Regions from separate parts of the Homo sapiens genome. Here region 2 is linked to region 1. The links are contacts of gene promoters, found by promoter capture Hi-C in human tissues and cell types (Jung and others, 2019). All regions are on one chromosome and are shown on one strand. The core of a region is centred on a gene start or on the middle of the fragment in contact, and the rest is flanking DNA. Distances in the headings are between cores, read along the strand shown. Region 1 holds the start of KIF26A (kinesin family member 26A). Region 2 has its middle 31 kb from the start of LINC02691.

Region 1 (7,551 bases), core at 2,109-4,608:
TCCTTCAGCCTCCACTGGGGGGAGTCAGGGGAAGGACCGGGGGAGCAGGACGGCCTTGCGGCGCCGCCGGAGCAGTGGGGTTGTGGGGCGTGGCCATGGTCCTTCCCAGGGGAGAGTAGAGGAGTGCAGGGGGCAGAGAGCACAGAAAGTCTAGCCCAGCCTTAGCACCCCAGCCAGGCCATAGGTGCGCGCTGGCGCCGCTGAAAACGTTCTCCTTCCCTCGCCTGTCCACCTTCCAGGTCCTGCTCAAGGCGCCTAATATCCCCTGGGCAGGGTCCCTGACACTTCCTTAACTCCCAAAGACCTTCCGCGTGGGCCTAGCGCATTTAGGCGAACCTCTCTGCCTGCTTGATCCTCTCCCTTCCTCCCTCAAGCCAGGCATCTCACCCACTTGCGCGCGAGGCTGGGGCAGCCCACAGGAGGAGCGCGGGACCCGGGCTTGAGTTTGCACCCAGGCAGAGCGCCCACCCCCGCCCCTAGCTTCGGACCCTGAAAGTAAAGTCGTCGTGCCCGGCAGCCAGCCCGAATCTTCCAGCCCTCAGGGAGTCGGGGTCGGGGCAGGGAAGGCCACGGGTGGCGGCACAATCGGGATCCTGGAGTGGAGGCGCAGACTGCGGGTCCCGCTGCGCACGCTCCGTGGTCCGGTTGGGGTGGGCCTTGGAGGTCCATAGGCCAAGGTTGAACGGGGGCTCTGGAGCGTGGGCGGGGTGGAGTGCACAGGTCACTGGGCTCTGAGCGTTTCCATGGGCCAGGACCCCAACGCGCCGTGTCCTCAGGACAGATTGGAGGGGGAAGGGGCTGCGATTATGCCCCAGTCGGAAGGGTTTTACAGCAGCCGCGCTGCCCTCTCCCTGCCGGATACCCGGCAGTAGACACCGACGTCTGGGGGCTAGCGAGGCAGGTGGGCGCGGACCGCGACCCGATTCTGGCTTCCAACCTCCGCCCAGTGGCGCGCGGGGCCGTCGCCCCACACCTCCAGTCCGCGTGGCTGGTGTCTGGCTCGCCGCCGGGGCGGAAGGGGCGCTGTCGGCGCAGGCGGGCGGGGCCGGAGCGCGGGGGCGCGCGGCGCGGAGCGAGCGCAGGGCTCGGGGGCGCGGGGCGCGGAGGACCGGGGGCTTGACGGGCGGCCCTGCGCGGTGCGGGGCGCGGCGGCGGCGGGCGCGCGGCCAGTGAACGCGCGGGCGGGGCGGCGGTGGCGGGAGGCACTAGGGGCCGCTCCCCGCGCTTCCCTCTTCCATGGCGCTGCCCCAGCCGCCCGAGCCGCCCCGCGGCGCGCCCCGCAAGGCTCCCAGCCTGCTGGAGATGGGGGCGCTCTGCCTGGACTCGGAGATCATCCTGGGCTTCACCAGCCACCTCCTGCGGCGACGAGGCAAGGTGAGGGCTGTCGGGAGGGGGGCGGGCGGCGTAGGCGCCGTCCCGTTACTTTGCCGCGCGGCTCGCGCGGCCGGGGGTGCTGCGCCGGGAAGGAGACGGCAGGTCCGGAGCCGCGTCCCGCAGCCCGGGCTGGGACTCGCTGCCGCACTTTCCCCCATTAGCGTTGTCCAAGTCTCCCTCTGCCTTCAAGGCTGTGTCCCAACCGGACCCACCCGGAGGCTGTGGCTAGGGCGGAGAGCGCAGCGCAGGGATTCTCGGGCTCACCTTGCGCCTTGCTAGGATGGGCGAAGTAGGGGGTCGGGGCCCCTGACTGATCGTGAGCCCCCGAGGTGACTCCAGCCTTGTGCACCCCGTGTTCTGCGGATATGGGATGTGAGCTTGTGCTTCCCGAAGCGCCGCGGCGGTAGAAGCGCTGAAGTTGCGGGTGTGGCTGGCCAGGGGCGCAGGACCGGTGCTCCCGACCGCTGCGTGCTTCTGTGTTGCGTGTGTGGGTGGGGGGACGGGATATAGAGAGTGTGTGTCCCGGAGCAGTGGAGCGGCGGGAGGCGGTGCTGTCTGCCGGCAGTGCGGGGTGGGGTTTGGGTGTTGTCCTCAGTACCCAGATCCAGATGTGGGCTGACGCCCGTTTTCATTCTCCAGGCTGCGAAGAGACGGGTAGGGGAAGCGCTTCCGGCCCCCCAGGCTGGGTGGAAAGCGACTGCAGGCTTACGGATCTCAGAAAGAGTGGAGAGCCCCTGCCACTTTATTCCATACCCCCTTGCGTTTTCGAACCCCTAAGGTCATCAACGACCCGGAAAGCCGGGAGGGGATCACCCACCCCACTTTCTGGGGAGTGCGTGCGTGGGCGGGGAGGCTTATCCAAGTAAAAGGGGGTGGGCAAAACGGAAAGGGTCACTTTGACGTACTGAGTCTCTGCGAAGGCCTCACCGTATGTGCCGGCAGCCGCGTGTCCTGGTCTCCGCCGGGTCACGACCTTCGGAGTTTCCGAGTGCGCCTCAGGCCTGGGACGCGCGGCGCTGTCTCCCCAGTCTCGGAGCCGTGTGCGCAGCGGCCGGCAGGGGGCACTCGCGTCACGGGGAGCCCGCCCGCCGCGCCCGCCTGGCTTGACCCGGGCTTTGGGGCTGACCCGGAGCCTGGCCCGGAGCTGCCTGCGGCCGCGGATGCCGGCGACATTTGGGGCCCGGCTAGGCACAGAGCAACTGGTCGCCAGGGAAGGGCGGGGGGGCGGCCTCCCAGCCGGAGACAAACAAGCAATTAATTCCGGAGCTGAGTTCCCATCTGCCAGGCCTGCTGACAACAGGTCCGGCGCACGCCCGCAGGACCTCCCGCTTCCCGGGCGGCACGGCGCGCACACCCACTTGCGGGCACACGCGCGGCTGTAAAGACACGTGCCGTTCGCAGACGCGCCGAGGCACAGATACGCCGGCGCGGTCGCTGCCCGGCTCGAGGCGCACACCGCGGCGACACTAACCCACGCGCGACAGTTAGACCTAAAGTGGCCCGCGACACGCAGAGTACGCTGGGCTTGCTGGAAAGGCGCCTGGGAGTCTCGGGGCCGGGGTCCCGCCCCTTCCTCGGCCCACCTCGCCGTGGGCCTTGGGCAAGAGCGTCCCCTCCGCAGCCTCAGTTTTCCCGCCTGTAGAGGGAGGGGCGTCGGCGCCTCCTGGGAGACGCGCAGCCCTGGTGTCCCGGGAGAGGGGCGGGAGGCGCATGCGCGCGCGCAACTAGATCCTCGCCGCCGCCCCCAGCGCCCCTCCCCGGGGCAGGGACTCACCTAACAGGTTGGGGTCCTTGGAGTGCGCGGGGCCGCGTGGGGAAGCGGGGACCCTACCCCCCCCACGCGCCGCCCAGCACTGGGCAAGGGCGGGGCACTCTCTGGGCTCCCGCCCCTCGCCGCCCGCCCCGGGAGCCCGAGCCCCGCCCTTCCCCGGCCCCGCCCTCGCCTCCCGAGCGCGCCCACCGGAGCCACCGCGCTCCTCGCGACACTCGCAGGCTCTGCGAACTTCCGAGCGGCTGGGCCGGGCCATGGGGGCGCCTCGGGGCCGGATCACGTAGCCGCGGCGCCCCCGGAGAGCCAGCGTGGCCGGGAGCGCCTGCCGGGCTCTTCCCGCGCCCCGGCCATGGTCGGCCGCGGCGTCCCTCTGTGCGCTGCGCAGCCCGCGGTACGCGCGGCCCGGCCTGGAGAGGGAGGCGGGCGGCGGGGGCCCGGGACGGCGAAGATACTCGCGGTGTGCGCTGGATCCCTGGGGGCCGGGCCTCCTGCTGAGGGTAGCGGACCCGCAGGCGGGACCTCCGGGGATGGAGGGAGTGGGTGAGCGCCAGGGTCGTGCCCAGGGCTCCTAACTTTGGCAAGAGCGTCACGCTGGGGCAGGGCGCGCAGGGGTCTGGATCCGACGGACGTCCCAGGCTCACTGTCCGCTTCCGCCCCCACACCCTGCAGGTGGCCGAGGGCGGCCCGGCCCGCGAGCCGCCGCCGCTGCTGGAGGTGTCCCCCCGAAAGAGGCTACCCGCCGGGCCCGACCAGGACCCATGCGGCAGCCGCCCTGCTCCCGAAGGCGCCGGGGCCGGCCCAGAGCAGGGCCACTCGGCCGGCGGAGGCGGCTGGTGCCGCCACTGCCACACGAAGCTGGTGGAGCTCAAGCGACAGGCGTGGAAGCTGGTCAGCGGGCCCGGGACCACCCTCCGGGTAAGTGACACTTCCTTAGGCCGACCCCTCCGAGCAGGGCCACGCCGAACTTGGGTAGAACTTGGGGCTTGGAGGGAAGCAGGGTTCCACTCCTTCCCTGCTGCTGTTTCCACAAAGAGTTATCAGCCAGGACTTCCCTTCTGCGGGCCTCAGTTTCCCGGTCTGTAACACCATGTGTGAGCTAGGGAGCTCAGCCCGAGGGGCCCTGCTGCCTCGGATGGGAGGGGCCTGGGCTGGCGTTCCTCCCCCAGCCCAGATGTCCCACAGCTGGAACGCAGGTTTGTGTGGGAGGAGGAGGGGAGAGAGCGGATGGCAGGGACTCCACCCAGGGCGGGACAGCTCCAGCCCTACCAGCAGGGAGAGGTTATTTGGTGCATTGTGGCCCTTGGGGCACCTGGGCCCCCAGCCAGGTGTCTGGAAATTACATACCTGGGGCCGGGGGGCCTGGCAGGTGAAAGGGTGGGCCACAGCAGCTGGGGGGTCCCTGCCTACTCCTCTCCCAGCCTCAAGGATAAGAACTGTTGTCCCATACCTCCTGGGATAGACTGAGGCAGTGGCCGCCCATGGGGAATTGAGTCGGGGCCCTCTGGGTTCCCCAGGCTCCAGCCCCAGGGGCAGGTGCTTGCAGGGGAGGGGTTCTCCTGGATTTCCAGCCAGTGGGCCTGCCGGCTTTGGAGGGAGCAGGGACCATTGTTCCAGGAACAATGCATGCTGGAAGTTTGCAAAGGCTGGGGGCGGGTGGGGGTCTCCAGAGGAAGCCCGCTGCCGGGCCTTCAGCCTTTATGAAAGAGTTCCTGGGAAGTCCGCATAATCCCCATTGAATCTAAATATAGTTCTCTAAGGGCTGTGGGGGTTGGAGTGAGCTGAGACCCTGACTGCCCTGTCTGGGGCAGGGCAGGGTGGGGCAGGGTACCAGTCTGGTTTCTGTCCTGGGCACCGTCTCCGGGCTCTCTGGAGTCTCGGCGAGGGATAGGATTGCTGTAGCCTCTCTCTGGCTCAGGCCAGGCGCCTGTGGGCCTGTCCTGGGGTGGGGCTGGACCCGCCCTGTCCTCTGCTCTGGACAGGCTGCAGCCTTGGCCATACTCTGTGCCCCAGTGGCCTGTATCTAGTTTAAAAGGTAGCAGGAGACCCTTGAGGGCCCCCTGGAGAGGGCCAGCCAGAGCTAAAGGCCCATCTTGCTGCCCCATTAGGGGAAACACGCCAGAGACAGGAGGGGCATTAAGATTGAGCTGGTCTCCTCATTCTTGGAGTGGGCTTGGACTGCTGATGCTGCCTGGCCCTGGGGCCATGGTCCTGGCATGGACTCGTGGAGGGGAGGGGGCTCCTGGTCACGGGCAGGCCAGGGGTCCTAGTGGAGAGGGCTGCAGGTGATACTAGTCCCTGGTGGATTCTAGGTTCCTCATCTAGGGGGGTGTCTTGGTCTCTTCTGGCAGACAGGTCTTCAGGGGAGCCCCAGACCACCCATCTCCAGCCTCCCCTGAGCTTGGCCTTTGACACTGGAAACTCCTCTTGAGTGCCAGCTGGGGGCTCCCCCTTCCCTAGCTGGCGCTGGCACTCAGCACACCGGGGTCCCGGGCTGGTCTCAGCCAGGGCTTTGTTCTGCTCTGGGCCCCCTTCTTCTGCTTTGTGGTCTCCTCTGTCACCTGGGGCCTGTTGTGAAGTGCTGTCCCACCTGCAGGGTGCTGTGCCCCCGGGAGAGAAGACCCCATCCTCCACTGTCTCTCCACAGGGCATGGGGGGCTGCACCTGCCATCCTGGGGCCTTACGGGTGTCATTGTCCTGTCCCCTGTGCGGGCCTGGGCTGTCCCCAGAGTCCCAGCAAAATTGCAGCCTGCAGCCCTGGCCTGGCCCGCTGGGCCCAGATGTGTGGACATGGCTGCTTCTGTGTTTGGGTTGGGAGGGAAATCTCTGGGGTGGCCAGGGAGACCCCAGTGTGCTCCCCGGAGTCTGGTGCACTGTCCAGTGGGCCCTGGCCTCTGCTCTGTAAGGCCAACGTGGCAAGGGGTATTTAGGGTTGGTGTTCTAGGATTTCCCCAGGGGCCCGTTTCGTATTTTTTAGGGGAGAGATGAGCTTCCTTGAGGATAGCTGTTTACAGGGAACTTCACAATCATCCATCTGTCTCATGCTTGGATCTTCAGAAGCCCAGAGAAGTGGAGAGACTTGCTGGGACCCGGCCTGGCTATTAGAGGCCCTCGCCTCCGGGCTTCCTGCCTGTCTCCGTTGTAGAGGGAGGCGTAGAGGGTCGGGGCCCAGCCTGCCAGGGTCTCCCTGCCTGTCTCCGTTGTAGAGGGAGGCGTAGAGGGTCGGGGCCCAGCCTGCCAGGGTCTCCCTGCCTGTCTCCGTTGTAGAGGGAGGCGTAGAGGGTCGGGGCCCAGCCTGCCGGGGTCTCCCTGCCTGTCTCCGTTGTAGAGGGAGGCGTAGAGGGTCGGGCCCAGCCTGCCAGGGTCTCCTTGAATGTGTTGCTCTTTAGCAACACCCGATGCCTGCATGGTCCTGCCTATGCTCATCCCCTGCTGGGCCCTTGCCCACCCTCCTGCCAGGAGGCAGCTCCCCTGAGCAGGTTCCCGAGAGTTCTTGGCCACTGTTTCCTGCTCTGCGACATGGGACCGTCTTTGTGCCCATTGCATAGGTACGTAGAGCAGTGCCCGGAAGGGATGCACTCTCACCTTGGCAGCTGCTGCTGCTGTTTGCTGAGTTAGGGACTCCGAGTCCCTGGGGCTGTTGGAGCCCAGGTTCCCGGCCTACCTCTCCCTTGCTGTGTGCTCTTGTCTGCCTGAGCCTGTCTCAGTTCCCTTGTCTGGGCAGTGAGGGTGACCATGGTCCCCTATCTGGGGACCTCATCCCTGTGGCATGGATAAGACTGTGCCCTCCCCACCTTTCTGAGCTCTGGTGCCCCGTCTGGGGCCGTAGGGGAGGGGGACATTGTCTTCCTGCCCCTGTTGGAGCCCCAGGGGATTGTCTTTCCTGATCTGAGAAGGGTGCTTGGCCCTGGGTGTGGAGGGGAAGCCCCATGATGGGACTCTGGCCGTGGCTCCTGCTCCTCACTGTGTCCCCACACTGTGCCCTCTGCTCTCACCAGGGTCCTCAGGCCTTGTCTCCGGGCTGACTACTTCAGGACCCCCATGGCCTGGAGCGGCCCCCTGTGGCCTGGCCTCCTGTGGCCTCCAGGGACCTTTCTCTAATGGGCTGCTCTGTCTGCCCTGCCATAGATGCTGTCCTCATCCCAAGACCCCCTGGCCTCCCTGGGCTGGAGGCCCCTCAGTGTCCCTGCTCTGGCCTCAGGGGCCCCTTCTCAGGTGCCCCCAACTCTGAGATGTCCCTGTGGGAGGTTGCAGCCTGGTGCCTCCCATTCAGCAGGCAAAGCTGGGGCCTCCCTCTTTCTCCACATCTAAGGCCCCCCTCGCTTCCCCATGCTCACCCACCACCGCAAACTGTTGTGGCAGACCTCTTCCCTCTCCCTGACCCCAGTCCTGGTTTCCCCCACAAGCAG
Region 2 (7,551 bases), core at 3,517-6,016, 55 kb after region 1:
AACGGGCTGGCTGAGCACCTGGGAGGGCAGTTCCTCAGGGCTGGCTGCTGTGTGAGGGGAGCCAGGGTCCCTGGGACAGTACAGGGGGTGAGGAGGCAGGTAGCAGGCCCCCTACAGCCTCACAGTGCCACGGGGCTGGCGGCATGGCCAGGGCTCTGAGCCGTTGGTGCAGGAGGGCGCCCAGGCCCAGTTAGTCCGAGGTGGGACCTGGAGGCTGGTGCAGGCCACTGTTTACTTACTTCCCGTTATGCTGATCTGCCTGAGAGATTCAGTCCCCGGCTGCGCGTGTCAGGCCATGCAGTTTGTTAATAAGGCACAGAGGAGAGTAAAACACCTCCTCTAGGTGGCCAGATTTATCACTTGGTGTGTGCACACATGAGCAGGTGCACACATACATGAGCACACACATACATGAGCACACACACACACACATGGGCACATGCACGTAGGGACACATGTACACACATGCACACATGGGCACACATGCACGTAGAGGCACACCCGTACACATACATGCACACACGGGCGCACATGCACCTAGGGACACACACGTGCACACACGTGCACACACGGGTGCACATGCACATAGGGGCGCACATGCACACACGGGCACACATGCACCTAGGGACACACATGTACACACATACATGCACACGGGCACACAGGCACGTAGGGGCACACCCGCACACACGCATGCACACGGGCACACATGCACTTAGGGACACACATGTACACACACATGCGCACATGGGCGCATGCATGCACACACACACACGTGCACTCAGGAGTCATGGGACCCGATGCCCTGCTCTTATGTCCATCTTCTTGGAGCCCTGGCATGGGGGCTCCCCCACCAGTCCCCACCTCCAGCTCTTCCTGGCAAGCCCGTGGGGAGGGGAGGAACTTGGCCTGCGTTCCCACAGACTGGCACAGGGAGCAAATCTGCCCAGCAAAGGTTGGGTGGCCTGCAGACCCAAGCCCACTCTGCTGGACACCTGGGCTCAGGTGCTAGACCGGGGGCTGCTCTTGCGGGCAGAGGAGGCCTCTGAGCTGCTGCCGGGAGAAGGAGGCTGGGCTCCAGGGTCGGGGGTTCAGGGCTGTGGGTTTGGGGATCTGGGGGTCCTGGGTCTGAGGATCTGAGGTGGGAGGACCTGGGAATCTGTGAGTTTGGGGATTGAAGCTTCAGCTCAGAGCCCAGTGCTGCTTTGGAGTGTCCCCTGAAGGAACCTGGAGTAGAGCACCAGCATTTTCTTCCAGAAGCTTCTTTTGGGCCACTATTGTCTCAGACTGGTACCCGGCCAGGACATGCATGGGAAGGTGGCCTCTGGTGGCCTGTGGCCAGCTGTGCTTGGTGACTTCCAGGCCAGAGCCTAGGTAGACTGGCCCAAACCCTCAGAGGGTCCCCCCAGGGCAGATGGGCTTCCCGGTGTAGGCTGTATCTGTGGAGCCCAGGGAAGGGGGCGTGCGGGAGGGCAAGGGGGCTGCTGAGGGTGGGATGTGGGTGGAGGAGGCAGGATGGAAGGCAGGGGCAGGGCTGAGACCTGGCAGTAATGGGGCCACACTCAGAAGGACCCACACTGTTATGCCCAGTCGTCGCCACCTTGAAGTTCATAACGACTCTTGGATAAGGTGCCCAGGGTTTCTGTTACGCTGTGGGCCCCACCCAAAATTATGTGGCTGGTTCTGAAGAGGGGACTCTGGGAGCGGGAAAGGCAGGCACAGAGGCTGAGGTGGGAGTGCTGGGGAGGCCGGGGGTCCACGCTAGCTGTCTCCATTCCTGATTCCTGCCCTGGGGGCAGAGGGTGGGGCTGGTCGGGCCTGCAGCTCACTGTCCTGAACCCCAGTTGCCTCCATCCCGTGCCTCCTCCCTGCTCCCCGCCATGAGCCAGGCTGCAGAGGTGGGCTGTACTCCCAGACTCAGCATCAAAAACTGCCCTGTGACCTAGGAAAGCCCCTTGGCCTCGCACTGGTGAAATGACACTGACCTTTGATTTTTGCACTTTAAAGGGTGGAGGTTGGAAAGGTCTGGCGAGAGCCACAGCCTGGCCTTGCAGGAGCCAGCTCCGACCTGTGACCTCAGCCCCCTGGGCCTCAGTTTCCCCATTATGGAAATGGGAACTTGGAGGCTTAGGGCTCCCTGCACAGTGGAGGTGGGTGGGTCCCTGAATGGGGAGAGCAGAGGCTTTGGGGCAAGAAGTTTTGGTGGGTGAGAGGCAGAGGTGGGGAATGCAGGCAGGGGCCTCCCCTTGCACCTGCATTCAGGGGAACAGAGGACGTGTGGGCCAAGACCCTAGGAGGTCTGAGGACTGGTCCCAGGTTGGGGTGGGCATGGTGGCTCGGCCACCGTGGGGAGGCAGAGGGCTGCTCGTAAATCCACGCTGCTGTCAGCTGAACGGCAATTGCGGATTGAGGCGGCCATCGGGGCTGACCTCCTGGGTCTGACGGGTCCATCACAGAGCAGCACCGCAGGGAGAGGCGGCTCTGCCTGGGAACCCACCTGCACGGACCACACGGCCCAGGGCCTGCCAGTTCCTGCCTCCCGTTCCTGGGTGGGGCTCACCTAGTGTCACAGAGACACGGAGTGTCGGGCAGTGACTGGCCTCAGTGCCCAGACCAGCTGGGCTATCTGAGTGCAAATTCTGCCTGCTGTGTGACCCCAGGTGTGCTACTGAACCTCTCTGTGCTCCTCTGAAACTGGAGATCCGTATTCACCCCTACCTCACTGGGGCTCAGTTAGATGATTTGACCCGGAGTATGCAGCTTAGTGGTGCCTGGCACATAAGGAACGCCAATGGATTTGGCTCCAATGGGGATGGCACGGACAGGGGTAGGATGATGTGTGCACAGTGCAGCCTCCCGTCGGGTCCACGGCCAGGCTCTGCTCCCACCAGCTGTGTGGACTCAACATGGAGCCTGGGAAATAGAAAAAGGCCTGTGAAGTGCCCGGAGCCAGCGGCACAGGGTGGGGGCACCAGGAGCTGCTGCCTGGTCCTCTCTAGGGCAGTGACTATTTGCTGCCATTGCCACGGGGATTTATCGGGGCCCCTCCATGTCCAGGCGTGGGCAGGTATCCGTGTCACCCCGTGTTACAGACCAGGAAGGCCAGGTCCAGGGCAGGCCGGCCTGTGCAAGGCTGACGGGAGGAAGGAGAGCCAGGCCTCTCCCTGCCTCGCCTCGCAGCAGAGCCCTGGGTCTGGGCAGGAGGACGGGCGGCCACAAGGAGGGCCAGACCCACCCTGGGGCCACACTGGGTTGCGTCTGCCCCTGGGGTGAGCCTGGTGGAGCCGGAGGGGCACTGCAGAGGGGCAGAGGGGTCTCCTCGCACTCGGCATGGACTCTGCCCCTGCTCCTGAGACTGGTTGGCCTTGAGGGCTCCTCCGGGAGCCTGGTGCCCTCACTCTTCAGAACAGCTCAGCACCCACAGCCTGGCCAGCTGGAGCAGCTGGGTGGTGGTTCAGATGGGATGGTGGGGTCAGTGGGACAGGCTCTGGCTTCTGGGGGCAAGGAATGAGCTGGAGGCAGGGGAAAAGGAAGGGGCTGGGCGTTGGGCGGGCTGGCACATGGGATGTGCCTGCTGAGGCCTGTGGGCAGGTCTTGGTCTGGGGACAGCCCTGCCCCTGTGTGTACCTGGCTCCCTGCTCCAGGCAGCTCCCCAATCTCAGGCTCAGCTACCCGGGGCCCTCTGCCCTCGTCTTTCTGCCCAGCTCTTGGGGGCTGTCCTGCTTCTGTCTCCCAAGGGCCTCACCCAGAGCTGAGGCAGGGGTGGGGATGCCCCCTGCCTGTGGCTGGTTGGCCTGCTCTCTCTCCTGCTCCCTTTGCTGTGAGTTGGGTGAGGAGGGGGCTCCGCCGCACTTGAGAGCTTCTAGCAGCAGCGCACCAGGCACAGGCATCGTGGCGTCGGGTGGCAATACATGGGGTGTGAACATAGAGCCGGGGCAGGTTGAGCAGACTCGCAAATGAGCTCCCAGCCCCCAGGGAGGCCTTGTGGGAGACCCCAGCCCACTCCCAGGGACCTACCCCAGTGCACCCCTGGGGAAATCAAGGCTGGGGTGGTCTCCTCTCGCAAGGCTGCTCAGCCCTCTCCTCCCCAACCACCGAGGCCTCTGCTGGGCGAGATCTCACAGCCTTCAAAGGCAGAGCCCTGGTGCCCTTCTCTTGGCATCTGTGCCCACTTCTCGGCCCCCACCCCGGCCACTCCCCCCCACCCTGTGGATGTGTCTTTCATCTGTCCCTTTGTGGCCCTCAGCCCTGTCCTCCTCCCTGCACTCTCCCTGGGCCACCTGCCCCTGCCCTGGGGCTTCACGTCCCCCTGGGCCACCTTGGCCCCCAGACCCCATCCCTGTGCCCCACATCTGCAGTTCCATCGTTTCTCTGGTATCTGCCCCATGTCCCTCCGGCCCCCAGATCTCTCAGACTTGTTCTCCCCTGTGCACCCCTCCTGGGGGCCCTGTTTCATCCTCTTCCGGAACCGGGGCATCAACTTGGGTTCCCTCCTCACCCTCAGTGCCTCCACCCAGCCCCAGTGCCATGGCAGGGTCGGGACCCTCAAGCTCTCAGGGCTGGTCCAGGAAGAGCCTCTGTCCAGGTGACCTGGGCACAGGGGGAGCATGGCAGTGGCGGGGGCAGGTGGGAAGGGATTGGCTTAAAATGCAGCATTCACTTAAAAACACAAAGAACATTTGTTCACCATGAAGTCAGGTCCTGCTCTGGTTGGTCTGTTTTTGGTTTTTACCTGGTTTTTTGGTAATTACCTGGTTTGCTTTGAGCTGCTTCCAGGCATCAGCCAGCCCCATATCCTGGTGGGGTTTCCTGGGGCCCCATTTATGCTCCCTTGGAAGTACCAGAGGGTCTTCTTTTCTCTTAAAGAAACAAATATTTGCACAGTTCAGCGCTGGGAAGGCCTCTGGCCGAGGTGGCCCGCGCACCCTGAGCCATGAGGGGTCAGGGCTGGGCAGAGGGGAGGGGGTGGATGAACGGCTTCTGCAGAGACAGTCTTGGCTCCACAATCTCCTCAGCTCAGGAGTGTGGATGTGCCATCCTGGAGCAGGTGCCTGTCTCTCCATGGTCCTGGCTGGGTGCCGTGGGTTCCGGACGGCAGGGCACCTGCCCATCCAGGGCTCCGGAGCAGCGAGGCTAGGCTGGGCCTTCAGCTCTGTCCTTGCTGGGCAGCGATTTCCTCTTCTGGACAATGGGGAGAGCTGTCCCTCGTCCTGGAGGGTGAAGTGGGTGGTGTGCGTGATGATCCCCGGTGCCCAGCACATGGTGGGCTCAGTGAAGCCAGACTTTTCTAGTTCTTCTTTAGTTCCCTAGACCTAAGCTCTCAGCTCGTGCTGTGTCAGGGCTGTGTTGAGGGAGGGAAGTCAGGTGTAGACTGAAGCTCTTAAGACTCTTAAGAGCTTCTACGGTCCAGGGTGTCACCTACGGTCCAGCAGGTGACTGATGGTCTAGCAGACGATTAGGCCAGTAGAGAGGCAGAGAAAGTGCGGGGGACTCAGAGGAAGGGAAGTGCTTCCATCTGGGCCAGGGGTGGTTAGGGAAGACTTCCCGGAAGAGGAGGTGCTTAGGGGAACCTGGAAGGGCAGAGAGAACCAGAGATGCAGGGGTGAGGGTCCTTCTGGCAGGTGTCTGTTTCAGGGGATGTCTGTGTTCGGTGAGGCCAGGGCTGAGCTCTACTGTTGGCTGAGCTGTGGGGGCGGCCAGGCAGGGCCCAGCATGCCAGGCTGAGGATGGGGCCAAGGGGGGCACGGCATGCTGGCCCCCCTGCTTGGTGTTCACTCTTGGGGACTGGACAGTGGTCCTTTCAACGAGCCCCCTCGCAGTCCCTGCCCTGGGGTCTCTCCATAGACCACTCTGCACACGCAGACCCTCCTGCTAGCGGACCGGGCCACAGCGAGGAGTGAAGACCCTGTGCAGAGTTCTCGTGCGGCCAAGGACAGCAGCCCACCTGAGACAGGTGCCCTGTAGTAGTGGCGGGAGTCAGAGACACCCCAGGGACAGCAGCAGGGGCTGCTTGCGGTTTGGAAGTCCCACCTGTGCCCAGACCACCAGCAGGGTCTCTCCTTCCCAAACCACCCCCTTTCCAATTCTGGGGGCGTCAGAGACTGCTGGGGGCATGGGGTGAGGCAGGGAAGGGTGGTGCGGGAGGCTGAGTGGGAGGGAGAGGGTGGGATGAGGCCCTGCATGCTGGACAGGACTCTGATGCATCACCCATCCCAGGGAATCTGAGTCTGAAACACAGAAAGGACCCACAGCCATTGGGTGTCCCCGGGCCTTAGCTTGCTGGGCCCAGGGCAGGCCGGGCTGCTTCTTGCCCGGGGAACTCAGCAGACCCCTGGATCGCTCCGGGGTGGGTGAGAGGCTGTGGAGGGAACCCTGTCCTGGCCGGCTGACCTCACAGCCCTCTCCTGCAGACGGGGCAGTCGAGGAGTAAAAGAATGAAAAGCAGTCAAACAGCCCCAGGAGACGCAGGTGAGGCTGGGCGACGAGCGGAAGCTGGAGATGGGGCCGCATGGTGGGCAGCAGCAGGGCAGGCTTGTGGGGTGAAGGAGGCTGGGGCATCCGGCATGGCAGAGGCAGCTTGAGTTTGGCGGAAGGGTGAGGCGTGGGGCCTGGGCCCACAGGAGGCCAGCGTGGTTTGGGGGCCTGGTTGGGTCTGAGATGCTTTGGGTGGTCCGGGGGACGTGTCCCATAGGCAGCTCCAGGTGGAAGCTTTGGGCTGAGGCAGAGGCTGCCTATGCACTCACCAGCTCGTTAATTCATCCTTCATTCTTGCCGGGAGCTGTTGGGGAGGCCATGCTGGGGGCCGGCTCCTGCTGGCTGACAGGAGCCAGTTGTTCCACAGATTTGTCATTCAATAGTGTAGAATCAGATCATGTCCTCGTTCTCGCCACGGCGCGGAAAGCTAACAAGAGTCAGCCCGGCTGCAATCTGCAGTGCTGGCGGTTCCCGTTGAATGAGTGAAATTGGTGTGAGGGTGAGATAGGCGGTCGTTGAACAGAGAGCACACATCAGACCTCACGACAATGAGCTTCTTGGGAAAAGAGACCTGGCTTCCTTTGTTGACTCGCGGGAGTGGCAGCTGCGGGGCTGGCTGGAAATGAGAGCAGAGCCAAGGAGCCTTCAGGGCTCAGACTTCACCAGGGAGAGTTGTGTATCTGTTTGTGTTATTTCTAAACTGTGTGTACAGGTCTTTCATGGCGGTAACATGTATAATCAACGTGCATTCGCATACACAAGCATCTGTTCTTTTCTCTGAGCCAGTTGTTAAAACATTTACCAGCACCGCTGTGGGGGCTGGGGAGAAGGTGCTTTGGAGGGGGGTGGGTGGGACACCTTAGGGTGGGGAGAGGGTGTGTAGGATGAGCCCAGGTAGAGAAAGAGAAGGCAAGGGCAGGGGAGGTGGTGTCTAAATTAGGGCAGAGCTTACCAAGGACAGGCCAAGGCAAGGAAGGGGGAAGGTGGCCGTGGTCATGGCTGGGCGGGAAGGAGGGTGCAGGAGGCGGGGCCGTGGTGCCGGGCTAGAAGGAGGCAGCCACGGGGTTCTGGTCTACT

What was found. Contacts are between HindIII fragments. The study calls those that stand out against the background at their distance.
Region 2: a contact is called between a fragment that was not itself captured here and the fragment with the promoter of KIF26A in region 1, in 1 of the 25 tissues and cell types used here (dorsolateral prefrontal cortex).

The regions. Positions count from the first base shown.
Region 1 is chr14:104,135,229-104,142,779 of GRCh38, forward strand. It overlaps KIF26A (kinesin family member 26A), which reads left to right and starts at 3,359. Exons shown (of 15, transcript NM_015656.2): 1 at 3,359-3,536; 2 at 3,815-4,060. The coding sequence starts at 3,495. It overlaps KIF26A-DT (KIF26A divergent transcript), which reads right to left and starts at 3,401. Exons shown (of 3, transcript NR_158217.1): 1 at 2,302-3,401; 2 at 1,639-2,014. RefSeq lists enhancers at 378-951, 1,238-1,949, 1,950-2,661 and a silencer at 2,358-2,527. The HindIII fragment of the contact is 16,750 bases long and covers 1-7,551 here.
Region 2 is chr14:104,189,148-104,196,698 of GRCh38, forward strand. No RefSeq gene overlaps it. Among named protein-coding and RNA genes, the nearest start is that of LINC02691, 31 kb to the right of the region's middle. RefSeq lists an enhancer at 1-530. The HindIII fragment of the contact is 7,092 bases long and covers 1,221-7,551 here.